Regions from separate parts of the Homo sapiens genome. Here regions 2 and 3 are each linked to region 1. The links are contacts of gene promoters, found by promoter capture Hi-C in human tissues and cell types (Jung and others, 2019). All regions are on one chromosome and are shown on one strand. Each heading gives the region's core, a stretch centred on a gene start or on the middle of the fragment in contact. The rest is flanking DNA. Distances are from core to core; before and after follow the strand shown. Region 1 holds the start of POU5F1B (POU class 5 homeobox 1B). Region 2 overlaps CASC8 (cancer susceptibility 8). Region 3 overlaps CASC21 (cancer susceptibility 21).

Region 1 (4,463 bases), core at 146-2,645:
GCACTAGGACTTTATTACCTGCAACCCATCCTGCAAAACTGTGAAGATTTGATATGATCATTCTCATTTTATGGTTGAGAAACAAGGGTTAAGGACATTAAAAATTTACTCAATGTTTAAACATTTGCCTGTCTTATTCTAAAGCCCCTTCTCTTTTCACAATCCCTTTAAGAAATGGACATCCAATATTTGAGTGGCAGAGGCAAAAACATGGCCTACCAGAACCATTATGATAGCTTTACAATATGCCCACCAATTATTTGATAGTCCTCCTGCCAAATGGTGAAGGCTAATTACCCTCCTACAGAATGTGACTCACTTCTAATGAATAAAATATGGCACAAGTAAAAGTGTGCGATTTCAGAGACTAGGTCATAAAGAACGCAGTGGCTTCTTCCCTGCTCTCTCTTTCTTAGGTCATTCTCTCTGGGTGAATCCAGCTGACATGTTGTGAGGACACTCAAGCAGCTTTATGGAAAAGCCCACATGGTGAGCAACTGAGGCCTCCTACCAACAGCCAACAAGAAACCGGGGCCTTTGCCAACAGCCAAGTAAGTGAGACATTTTGGAAAGTGGATCCTCCAGCCCCCGTTAGGCTCCCAGATGACAACATCCCCTGCTCTCATCTTGACCACAACCTCATGAAATACCCTTATCCAGGATACCCAGTTAAGCCACACCACAATTGCTATTTTACAAAACTGTGAGCTATGTGTTAGTTGTTTTTAAGCTATTAAGTTTTGAGGTGATCTATTACACAATGATAAACAACTAATACACCCATCCAGTGCTGAAGAAAGGGGTTGTCAGGAGGGTAGAATTTGCACTATTAAATCTTCATAGAGTGCTATTTCCCGTCACTACAGCACACTTGTCACCAACTATAAAGAATTAGGTCAGGGAATTTCTTTGGTTGCAGCCCATTTTGCCTTTGGTTGTTAATGGTAGAACCGTTTCCCCACAATCTGCAGGAAATAAGAATCAGAAAGAAGGACACACCATTCCATAGCACAGAACACAAGTAGATGGCTCCCATGAAGAATCTAGCATCATGGTATGGCAGAAGCAGAATGGACTCAGGAATCATGGTGCCTACACTGGAATTTCAGATCGGCCACTGACACAATGGACACATTATTCAACATTTCCAAATCTTGGCATTCTTATCCACAAAGTGAAGATAATAATTGTCAATTCACAGGTGATTATGATTTAAAGAGATTACTTTTGAAGAGTTCCTAACACATTCAGTCAACATTTAATGATGCTTCAGGCACTGTGTTCATTGCTAGTGAGCGTATGACACACACAGCCATACGGTCACAGAGCTTTCAATGAAAAGTAACATAATTGCTCATTTCACCAGGCCCCCGGCTTGGGGCGCCTTCCTTCCCCATGGCGGGACACCTGGCTTCGGATTTCGCCTTCTCGCCCCCTCCAGGCGGTGGGGGTGATGGGCCATGGGGGGCGGAGCCGGGCTGGGTTGATCCTCTGACCTGGCTAAGCTTCCAAGGCCCTCCTGGAGGGCCAGGAATCGGGCCGGGGGTTGGGCCAGGCTCTGAGGTGTGGGGGATTCCCCCTTGCCCCCCGCCGTATGAGTTATGTGGGGGGATGGCGTACTGTGGGCCTCAGGTTGGAGTGGGGCTAGTGCCCCAAGGCGGCTTGGAGACCTCTCAGCCTGAGAGCGAAGCAGGAGTCGGGGTGGAGAGCAACTCCAATGGGGCCTCCCCGGAACCCTGCACCGTCCCCCCTGGTGCCGTGAAGCTGGAGAAGGAGAAGCTAGAGCAAAACCCGGAGAAGTCCCAGGACATCAAAGCTCTGCAGAAAGAACTCGAGCAATTTGCCAAGCTCCTGAAGCAGAAGAGGATCACCCTGGGATATACACAGGCCGATGTGGGGCTCATCCTGGGGGTTCTATTTGGGAAGGTGTTCAGCCAAAAGACCATCTGCCGCTTTGAGGCTCTGCAGCTTAGCTTCAAGAACATGTGTAAGCTGCGGCCCTTGCTGCAGAAGTGGGTGGAGGAAGCTGACAACAATGAAAATCTTCAGGAGATATGCAAAGCAGAAACCCTCATGCAGGCCCGAAAGAGAAAGCGAACCAGTATCGAGAACCGAGTGAGAGGCAACCTGGAGAATTTGTTCCTGCAGTGCCCGAAACCCACACTGCAGATCAGCCACATCGCCCAGCAGCTTGGGCTCGAGAAGGATGTGGTCCGAGTGTGGTTCTGTAACCGGCGCCAGAAGGGCAAGCGATCAAGCAGCGACTATGCACAACGAGAGGATTTTGAGGCTGCTGGGTCTCCTTTCTCAGGGGGACCAGTGTCCTTTCCTCCGGCCCCAGGGCCCCATTTTGGTACCCCAGGCTATGGGAGCCCTCACTTCACTGCACTGTACTCCTCAGTCCCTTTCCCTGAGGGGGAAGTCTTTCCCCCAGTCTCCGTCATCACTCTGGGCTCTCCCATGCATTCAAACTGAGGTGCCTGCCCTTCTAGGAATGGGGAACAGGGGAGGGGAGGAGCTAGGGAAAGAGAACCTGGAGTTTGTGGCAGGGCTTTTGGGATTAAGTTCTTCATTCACTAAGGAAGGAATTGGGAACACTAAGGGTGGGGGCAGGGGAGTTTGGGGCAACTGGTTGGAGGGAAGGTGAAGTTCAATGATGCTCTTGATTTTAATCCCACATCATGTATCACTTTTTTCTTAAATAAAGAAGCCTGGGACACAGTAAAAAAAAAAAAAAAAGAAAGAAAAGAAAAGTAACATAATTGAGTAATAATTTTTTAAGTGTGGTAAAATGTGTGGCACGTAGTAGGTATTCAATAAATACTTGCTTTTTTCCTCCTTTTTACCTTTTCCTAGAGTGCTACTTGATGGTAGCTGTAGTTTTTCTTCAAGACATCCTATTTGTCCTGATACAAAACCTCTTTTGACCGCTAACGGCATAGTTCGGCCCTCACCATTCCCTCACATATTCCACAAAAATGTGAGCATTAACCATTCCCCATGATACAGATAATTCATTTTTTAATTTAATTTTTTAAAATTTTATTTATTTACTTATTTATTTTGAGACCAGGTTATGAGACTGGCTAATTTTTGTATTTTTGGTGGAGATGGGGTTTTGCCATATTGTCTAGGCTGGTCTCAAACTCCTGAGCTCAAGGGATCCTCCTGCCTGGGCCTCCCAAAGTACTGGGATTACAGGCATGAGCCATTGCACCTGGCCCGGATAATTTTTTTTCTTTTTTTGAGGTAGTGCCTTCCTTTATAGCTCAGGCTGGAGTGCAGTGGTGTGATCTCGGCTCACTGCAACCTCTGCCTCCCAGGTTCAAGTAATTCTCCTGCCTCAACCTCCTGAGTAGCTGGGATTACAGGCGCCCACTACCACGCCCGGCTAATTTTTGTATTTTTAGTAGAGATGGGGTTTCACCATGTTGGCCAGGCTGGTCTCGAACTCTTGACCTCAGGTGATCTGCCTGCCTTGGCCTCCCAAAGTATTGGGATTGTAGGCGTGAACCACCACGCCCGGCCCTGAAAATTCATTTTTAAAAGAACATCATATCTACCTTAAATGCATTAAGATTTCACATTAGACTCATTATTCATAGTGAACATTAGGAACTTAAGTCCACTCAGTAATAATGCACCTATTCATGACTCTTGATTCAAAGATGTGCACCTATTTACCCTGGACCAGCTCCTTGGAAGGACATGAAATAGAGGGTAATAATCACATCTTTCCAAATTTGCTATGAAACTGCATCGCCAAAAACTGAGACTCATTTTCCGATTGATGAATCAAATGACAACAAAATCTCCAGGGCATTCTGAAACCCAACAGGGATTAATGATTAGGCATACCAGTGGTAGTTAGGAGACTTGCCCAAATTTCCAGTTTTCTGCAGATGGCATCTAAGTTAGAAGACTGTCATAAATTTATTCATGGCTTGGCTTTCTGCTATTTGCTCATTGGTGACACTTTTATATACAATGGTGTTTCTATGGCTAGGAAATCCCAGTGGAGATCAAGAAACCTGGGTTCTACAAACTAATGGGGTGACCTTTGATTAGTCCTAACTCCCTTCCTAAGCCTCAGTTTCTTTAGACATGAAATGAAAGCAATGGATTACATTGCCTTAGACTTTTTCCTAGATCGAAAATGTGATAATTGTGCCTTTCCAACAATAATTGATACCACTAGTGAACATTCTTTCTTAAGCACATCTATTAAGGACTTCATTTATATTATTTTTCTAATCTTTAAGCAAACTCTGAGATAAGTGACTATGATGTTTATTCCATAGGTGCAAAAGATTTGTCAAGTAACTCTCCAAAGTAAAAGAGAGGGCTGGAGTTTAGACTCATGACTGTTCTGCTCTAACCCAAGTGATTCTGGATCCCAGACTCCCCAAATGACAAGTTATTCCAGAAATACTCAGAAAAAGGAGGGTGCCGTATGTCGCACA
Region 2 (4,270 bases), core at 689-3,188, 39 kb after region 1:
TAGGCAGGGATCTCAAGTGTGTCCTTGGCCTGCAGTGGGGACTTGTGCATCTGAAGGAGCAATCAGGCAGGTGGCCTGGGGCAGCCTGCTCCATAACGATGCCCTCATTCCCAGGAGCAAGACTGAATGCCAGTTACTCAAATCCCATTCCTGGCTTTCTGCTTCAGTCATTACTAAGAGTTTTTCATATCTTCTGGTGTTCAGGAAAATATTTCTATTTTCAGGAGAAGCAACTCTGCCTTATACTCGAAAATTAACCAGACATTCTATTATTGCTGAAATTCTTTCCTCGTATTGCATTTTATTTAGGCTTTTAAAAATCCTTTATTTATGCAGTTTGAATCAGGGGTATTTTCTGGCTTACAGGTTAGTAGAGAATTACAAAACATTCAAAATTTCAAAGATTCCCTAAGGGAGAAGTGATCTATTCCAATATGGGCTTATATTCCAGAAAAAAAAAAAAAAAAAGCGTACTCCCAGAAAGATTTGTCTGGGAAATGATTGCAAATGAGAAAACTCACTCAGATGTGAGAAATGATACCGCCCTGGACTTTCATGCTGGGCCCTAAGAATTATGACATGGATGTAAAAGAAGATTGCCACAAGTCGCCAGCTTGCCTGCTCCTTAAGATGCTTGAAGTCCCCAGTGAAAGCTGAGAAACATGAAATTACTTCTGAATGTGCCCACAGACAGGACAGTGTAAATTGTAATGACAGAGAAAAAGACCTGCTGCAGGCCTCCCTCACGCGATCCCAAGTGAGTTTTACAGTCGTGTAGTAGGATAGAGTGAGCCTCATTCTAAGGCTGACGAAGCTGAGGCTCAGTAACCCCAGTTTGATCAACTTGAGTCAGCAAGCTCAAAACTGGTGAAAGCCAGATTTTCTTATTTTTTTTTTCTACCCAGGCCTTCTACAACAGGTCTCTACAACTAGTGTCTTTTATGACCCAGTGCTGCTTTCTGATTGGGAACATACCAAGTTCAAGGTCCCCATGTGGTCCTGTATAGTATTCACAATACTATATAGTATGCAACTGTTCTATATCTGTGCTGTTCAATACAGTACTATATATAGTATGCACAATTTCCATGCAAGGAAAACATTTAATATCTTACAATGCACTTTCACACTTAGCATCCCACTTGACCCTTACAACAACTTCATGGGGTAAATATTTATTTCCCTGTTTATGAATAAAGAAATTGAGGCTCACGTTCTGTTAAAGCCATTGTTATGGCCTTAACCCATTCTATTATGCCTCCAAGAACACACAAAATCTGGTGGCTGTTCTGGGAGCTAACAAACTCTGCTTTAAGTCCTAACTCTGCCATTCTCCAACTTTGTGACCTCAGGCAAAATGCAAATTTTTTCTGCATCTCAGTGTTCACATGCGATAACTAGAGGGAAAGAGTACTTGCCTCATACGGCAGATTCTTCATTCATTCTACAAGCATTTATTCAGCATCTACTATGCTCTAAGTTCTGGAGATACAGTAATGAACAAAACAAAAGCCTCAGCATTTGTGGAGTTATGTTCTACTTATGGGAGACAGAAAAGAAAATATATTGCATTTGAAGGTGATAAATACTAAGAAATATAAAACAGGGAAAGAGAATAGGGAGTATTGGAAGGAGGAGTTCAGTTCAAATCAGAATGACCAGGAAAGACTGCAATTGAGAAAGCAACATGCAGTGAAGACTTCAAAAAGGAGTGAGGGGCCAGGCGCACTGGAGGAGGATTACTCTTGTAATCCTCGCACTTTGAGAGGCCAAGGCAGGCCAAACACTTGAGCTAAGGTGTTGGAGGCCAGCCTGGGCAACACAGCGAAACCCCATCTCTACAAATACAAAAAAATTAGCTAGGCATGGTGGTGGGCTCCTGTAGTTCCAGCTACTCAGAAGGTGGGGATGGGAGAAACACTTGAGTCCAGGAGGTCAAGGCTGCAGTGAGCTGAGATTGTGTCACTGCACTCCAGCTTGGGCAACAGAGTGAGACCCTGTCTCAAAAAATAAAGGGAGGAGTGGGCGGTGAAAGAGCAAGCTTTGTAAGTATCTGGAAGAAGAGCTTTCTAGGCAAGAGGAAACAGCAAGTTTAGAGGCCCAGAGGCAAGACACTGGGAGGGTGGTGCCTCTGTGTTCCAGAAACAGGGAGGCCATGTGGCTGCACTGGAGTGAGCGAGGGAGAAAGAAGTAGGAGGAAGATCAGAGATGTAACTGATAGTGCGAGGATGGGACACTAATTATGCAATGCTTTATGGGACCATTACAAGGACTTAGATTGTTTTCTCTAAAAGTAATTGGGAGCCATTGGAGGCTTTTGACGTAGGAGTGCCATGATCTGACTTCAGTTTTACCAGGATCACTCAAGCTGCTATGTTGTGTTAGACCGGAGGGATCAGGTGTGGGAGCCAGTTAGGGAGATGTTAAATGTTCTCTAGGAAAAGAGGATGGTGGTTTGGGCTGCAATGGTAGCCATTGAGATGGAGAAATGGTAGGAATTGGGTTTTATTTTGAAATCGAGCCAACAGGGTTTGCTGATGAGTTATATGTGAGTGGGAGAGAAGGAATGGGACTACGAGTTTCTTGGTCTGAGTAACTGCTTTTCACAAGAATGAGAGTATAGAAGAAGCAGCTCTGCAAGAGTGAGAAAGAACTGAACAATGAATGTATATTTTCTCCAGCTATACAGTGTCCAGCACAGAGTATGTGTTCCATAACAGGTAGATATTACTATTAATAATGTATCTGCTCACCTGGTTAAATATTTCTGCAGACCTTTGCCCTACATCCAAGCACTCTGAGAAAGCACATGGTCAGGCTGTTTTCCACCAGCAAATGGACCACAGAATCTTGGTACCATAGTGGTTTTTAAAGCCCATTGGCTACCCAAAACCCCTTTGACCCATCAAGCGTGCTCTGGACTCAATACCTTTGCACAGGCTGATCTCCCTCTCCACCCACCCTTCCTTCCTCTCAGCTTCTCCATACAGGAAATGGACAAAGGCACAAACTGGAAGTCAGTGCAGATTCAAGCTTTGGTTTTGTTCAGAGAGTATTCCTTAATGCTCACAGAAAATCTAGCCCAGCTTCTCCTATTACAAAACTGGAAGCTGAGGACTAGAAAGATGAAGTGGCTTGCAGCTTCCCCATCAGTATGACAAGGAAACTGTATTAAATAATTCCCAAGGATTCTTCTAGCTCTCACATGCTTTCAGGTTTTCAATAAACACAAGATACAATAAAAAGCAATCAAAATAATGACCAGCTGATTTTGCTTTCCTTCATTACCCTCATCTAAGCCACCAGCAAACTCTGCTAACTCTTCCTCCAAAATAGATCCCACTCTGTCACTCCTTTTTTTTTTTTTTTTTTTTTTTTTTTTGAGACGGAGTCTTGCTCTGTCACCTAGGCTGGAGTGGAGTGGCGCGATCTCGGCTCACTGCAAGCTCCGCCTCCCGGGTTCACGCCATTCTCCTGCCTCGGCCTCCCGAGTAGCTAGGACTACAGGCACCCACCACCACGCCCAGCTTTTTTTGTATTTTTAGTAGAGATGGGGTTTCACCGTATTAGCCACGATGGTTTTGATCTCCTGACCTCCTGATCCACCCGCCTTGGCCTCCCAAAGTGCTGGGATTACAGGCTTGAGCCACTGCGCCCGGCCACTGTCACTCTCTTTTTATGGTCACCACCATGAGACAAACCACCACCACCTTGAAATGAACAGCCAGAGCAGCCTCTAACTGGCTTCTTTCCCCTCCTTACCCTGGCCCTCCTACTTGCTATATGCATGTGACAGTCTGAACGATCTGTTGAGAATTTGAACCAAATGTATTTACTTCTTTTCCCAAAACCTACCAGTAACTTTCTATCATGTCTTACCTTGGCCAATCAGGCCTTACATGATCTGGCCCCCATTTTTCTCTTTGACCAGATCTTGCACCACTATCCCCTTATCTACAAGCCTCTCTGACCTTCTGCCTGTGCCTTTGATATTCCAGGCTTCCCCTCTCTTTGGCATTCAGGCTCCTAAGAGGGCCACCCCACCCACAGTGATTCCCACCTCTCCATATTCACATCCTTTGTGTAGGCTGGACCTAGTGCTTTGCCTTTAAAGAACAGAATATGGCAAAGGTGATGGGATGTCACATCCACGATTAGGTTGCAAAAGACTGTAACTTCCATCTTATTGGCTCTCTCTCTCTCTCTCTCTCTCTCCTTCTCACTTTCTCACTCAGATGAAGCAAGTTTCCATGTTGTGAGCTGCCCTGTG
Region 3 (4,378 bases), core at 1,347-3,846, 55 kb before region 1:
TTCTATTAATCCTGCTCAGGAGTCATGTGGCCAGAGGTCACAAGATTTCCAACTTCCCCAATTGCTCCTGTAGATAACATTGTTCTTGTAGAACCTAAGATTGTTCTTTTGAGATGTTTTTCCGACTTTTGGATTCTGGTAACTGACTGACCCCATTCAGACCTGTGACTCATGACTTAAGTAGTCCTGTGGCCCCCTCCTTGAGGCAGACTTAGTGCACAAGGACCGTTTTCCACACCCCTATGATTTCATCCTTAACCAGTTAGCAGCACCCAATCCCTAGCCCCCTGCCCACCAAATTATCCATAAAACCCCCAGCCTCTGAGTTCTCAGGGACATGGATTTGAGTAATAACTCCAGTCCTTCCACTTGCCCAGCCTTGCATTAATTAAACTCTTTCTCTACTGCAACCACCAAGTCTCAGTGAATTGGTTTGTCTGTGCAATGGGCAAGAAGAACCTGTCAGGTGGTTACATCTGCATCATTCCCAACTTATCCTCTGTTTTTCTATCTTCTCAGCATCCCTATTTTCCATGATTCTGGCTTTTTATGTTTGTATTCATATTTTCTTTCTACTTGTATTAAGTGAACATGTATATTCATGTTATTGAATTTTTATACATAAAAACAGATTATAAGTAAATAATCTCTTCCCACTTCCATTTTTAGACCTATAAAGGTAGATAATAGTAACTACCACATAGCATTGTTATGAGGCCAAAATAAGGCAAAATATATAAAGGTTTTAGCATAGCCTTGCCTATTAAATGTGAGTGTTCTCGTTTCCTCTCTGAAATGGAAGCATTGGCTGCCATGTGTGGCTCATTGAAAATGTTTTCAATCGGATATGTCAGATCTGAGGTGTGGGACTATGTAGTCAAGGCTAAAATAGTCCACAGATATGAGCATCCTCCAGCATCTCATAGCTGGGTGCCAAGTCAACAGTCACCTTACAGTCTTCAGGGTTCTCTCAGCCTTCACTACAATAAGTGCAATTTTATGCAGTGTTGGTGTTCAATAGTCCACGATCTTGGGCAAGTTATTAACCTCTCTAAAGATTCGGTTCATTCATCTATAGAGCAGAAAGAATAGTATTATCTCTCTCTCTTTAGACTTTAATGAAGATTATGTGAAATGGAACATGTAAATTGTTTATATCATGTAGTGCTTAATGTTAGTTGTTAAATGTAAGCCCAATAATTAGTACTATTGTCATTCCTTGTACTTATATTTGGCATCACGCTATCTATCTCACCTTATTTTTCTAAGTTAGAAAAGCAGGTATTAAATTATTACCTCCATTTTGCAGATAAGGAAATTGAGGCTTAGAAATGTTTCATGACTCCACAGTTTAAAAAGTGATGGATATAAGTAGAAATTATTGCATAAGAAGGATTTAGAGTCATCTAAAGTTGTAGAATAAACTAGGGCAGTTACTTCAGGTTCAGTCCATGCCAAATTTGAGTCTTAAAACTTTTAAAAAACATTTAATTGGAAGGCCATTAGGCTGAGATGGCTCCAGTGTTTTGGGTTCTGTATTAGTCCATTCTTGCATTGCTATAAAGAAATACCTGAGACTGGGTAATTTATAAAGAAAAGTGGTTTCATTGGCTCACAGTTCTGCAGATTGTACAGGAAGCATAGTGGCTTCTGGGGAGGCCTTAGGAAACTGATAATCATGGCAGAAGGCAAAGGGGAAGCAGGGACATCTTACATGGTTGGAGCAGGAGGAAGAGAGAGAGAAGGGGGAGGTGCCACAAATTTCTATGCAACCAGATTTCATGAGAACTAATTCATTCTGCAGTACCAAGAGGGGATGATACTAAACCATTGATGAAGGATCCACCCCCATGATCCAATTATTTCCTATCAATCAGGCCCCACCTCCAATACTGGGGATTACAACTGAAAAAACAGAACTTAAGTTTAGCCAATCTGAAATCACCAACTAACCTCCAACTAGAGACTTCCCACTAGATTGTACCTAAACAAGGCAAAAGGCCTATCTGTAACCAATCAAGCAATTTCTTTACTTTGCTTTCATGTGCACTCTACAGAAGCCCGCTGCTCATGCTGCTGAAGCAGAGTTCTCTGAACCTTTTCCAAGTGGAGTTCTGCCTGATTCACGCTCAAATAAACTTTGTTAAATTAATTTTGTCTAAATTTTTTAAACAACATATATAGGACTAGAATGAAATGTCCATCACCTAGCATAGCACCAAGCTCATTTCAGGGATTTTAGAACGGCTTTAAAAAAAAAGAATAAATAAATAAAAGCTTTATTGAAGTATAATTGATATACAAAGACCTGCACATATTTAATGAGTGATATTTATTGCAATTTGATGAGTTTGGATATACGCAAAAACCATCAGTACAATTAAGGTAATGGACATGCCCATTACCTTCCAGTTTTGTTATGTTGGCAGTAAGAACATGTAACATGAGATCTTCCCTCTTAAATTTTCTGGTGCACAATATCATATTATTAACAGTAGATAATATGTTGTATAGAAGACCTCTAGAATTTATTAATCTAGCATAACTGAAACTTTATACTTATTGAACAACAACTCTCCATCTTCCCACTCCTTGGCAACCACTACTGTGATCCCTGCTTCTATGATTTTGACCATTATAGACATGTCATAAAAGTGGAATCATGTAGTATTTGTTCTTCTGTGCCTGGCTTATGTCACTTAGCCTAATGTCTCCCAGGTTCATTTGTGCCCGTGTTGGCACAAATGGCAGGATTTTTTTCTTTTTAAGACTAAACAACATTCCATTTTGTATATATACCATGTTTTCTTTATCCATTCATCTGTTGATGGACATTTGTGTTGTTTCCATATCTTTGCTATTGTGAATAATGCTTCGATGAACATGGGAGTGCAGAGATAAATGAAGGCTTCAATGCACAAATAGAAACAATGGGTAAATGTAGAGCCGCACTCGGGAGACAAGCCTATTTTAAGCTGAGAAGAAGATTATATTCCCATCAGCTTACTCTTTCCTAGAGCTATCTGTTGTTCTCTAAAAGGCAGAGCATTGGATGGTGTTGAGATTGACTCAGCTTGGGAGTTTTGGAGCTAAAACAGATCTGGGCTCAAATCCTGGGTTTTGGTATTGTTAATATATTAAATCTTTGGTATTCTAAGGAATGCCCACTACTTTCAAAAGACATAAGTAACCTCACTACTCCAGTCATGAACTTGAAGCCAGTTGAGATTTTGAGTAAAGTAAAAAAAAAAAGACTTACTCATCAAATAATCTGAAATATTTTCTTGTGAATGTAAGACAATTTTTCAAGGCAAGTACTGGAGGATTTACTTTATTTATAGACAGAAACCTATAAATAGGAAAAAAAATGTGTTGTCTTACCAAGAAAGGACTAGTCCATTTTGCATCTATCTCATTCATTCATTTTATCCATTTCTATTCATCAAGGCACCACATTTTTCTCTCTTTAAAAAATCTAACTTATTTCATGCAGAATGGATTCTAATACGAGGTACCCTGTAATGTCAGGGAGCTATCCTAAGTATTATGTTAACTTCCATTTCTACACATTTTTCATACGGATACTCATATTACATACTCCTTGGAGATTTAAAAGGTTTGCATTGCCTTCATATACCCCCAAAACTCAGCATGATTTGTTCAAAATTTTACTAGTCAGCACTGAAATAAAAAAAAATGGTACATCATGCACAATGATAAACTACCCCATGTGGTTTGGATAAATTAAATACTTTAAGCTTTCAGTCTCCCTAATGATTTGGAAATGAAGAAGCTGTGATTTATGACTCCAGCTGATAGGTTAGATCTGAAGTTTACACTTTGAAAAATGCCGTATTTAAATTCCCCTATAAATAAAAAATAATATTGCTTTAAAAGCCCAGCCTAAGATATGTATGTAATAAATTAGAGATACTCATATTGAGTGGGGGAAATCTCCAAGACTGATGACTTTCTCCCTTGAAAAAATGCACTGAGTGAACCAGATCTAGGTCTGTGTCTATCTGCTACCACTTAATCACCAGTTATTGTCCCTTTCTGTCCAGTCATTCATTTGCTCATCCTAATGACTACTGTTAAAACCACCTGCACTAGTTCAGTTGTAAAGATGATCTGATGTGGTTTTTAAGTCCAAATCAAGTATTTTTAATCAGGTAGTTTCAAAAGTCTTGATACCAATATCATTCTTTGTTCCTCGTGTTTTTTGTTTGCTTATGTGTTTATTCCAATGACATGACTGCTTTTGGCCTCTGATTTTCTCTCCCAAAAAGTAACAGAACTGAAGCAGGTAATCAATATGATGCACGTTAGTAGGGAAAAAAAAGTACTTGGAGAGGAGTCCGCTGACCCACGGTCCAGT

What was found. The method cuts DNA at HindIII sites, captures the fragments that hold promoters and counts their contacts. A contact is called where the count stands out against the background at its distance.
Region 2: a fragment that was not itself captured here is called in contact with the fragment with the promoter of POU5F1B in region 1 in 1 of the 25 tissues and cell types used here (psoas muscle).
Region 3: a fragment that was not itself captured here is called in contact with the fragment with the promoter of POU5F1B in region 1 in 1 of the 25 tissues and cell types used here (ovary).

The regions. Positions count from the first base shown.
Region 1 is chr8:127,414,472-127,418,934 of GRCh38, forward strand. It overlaps POU5F1B (POU class 5 homeobox 1B), which reads left to right and starts at 1,396. Exons shown (of 1, transcript NM_001159542.3): 1 at 1,396-2,475. The coding sequence starts at 1,396. The coding sequence ends at 2,475. All of the region lies in intron 5 of CASC8 (cancer susceptibility 8), which reads right to left. The HindIII fragment of the contact is 11,415 bases long and covers 1-4,106 here.
Region 2 is chr8:127,453,145-127,457,414 of GRCh38, forward strand. All of the region lies in intron 4 of CASC8 (cancer susceptibility 8), which reads right to left. Among named protein-coding and RNA genes, the nearest start is that of CASC8, 27 kb to the right of the region's middle. The HindIII fragment of the contact is 4,462 bases long and covers 1-4,169 here.
Region 3 is chr8:127,358,655-127,363,032 of GRCh38, forward strand. All of the region lies in intron 3 of CASC21 (cancer susceptibility 21), which reads left to right. All of the region lies in intron 5 of CASC8 (cancer susceptibility 8), which reads right to left. Among named protein-coding and RNA genes, the nearest start is that of CCAT2, 40 kb to the right of the region's middle. The HindIII fragment of the contact is 3,348 bases long and covers 923-4,270 here.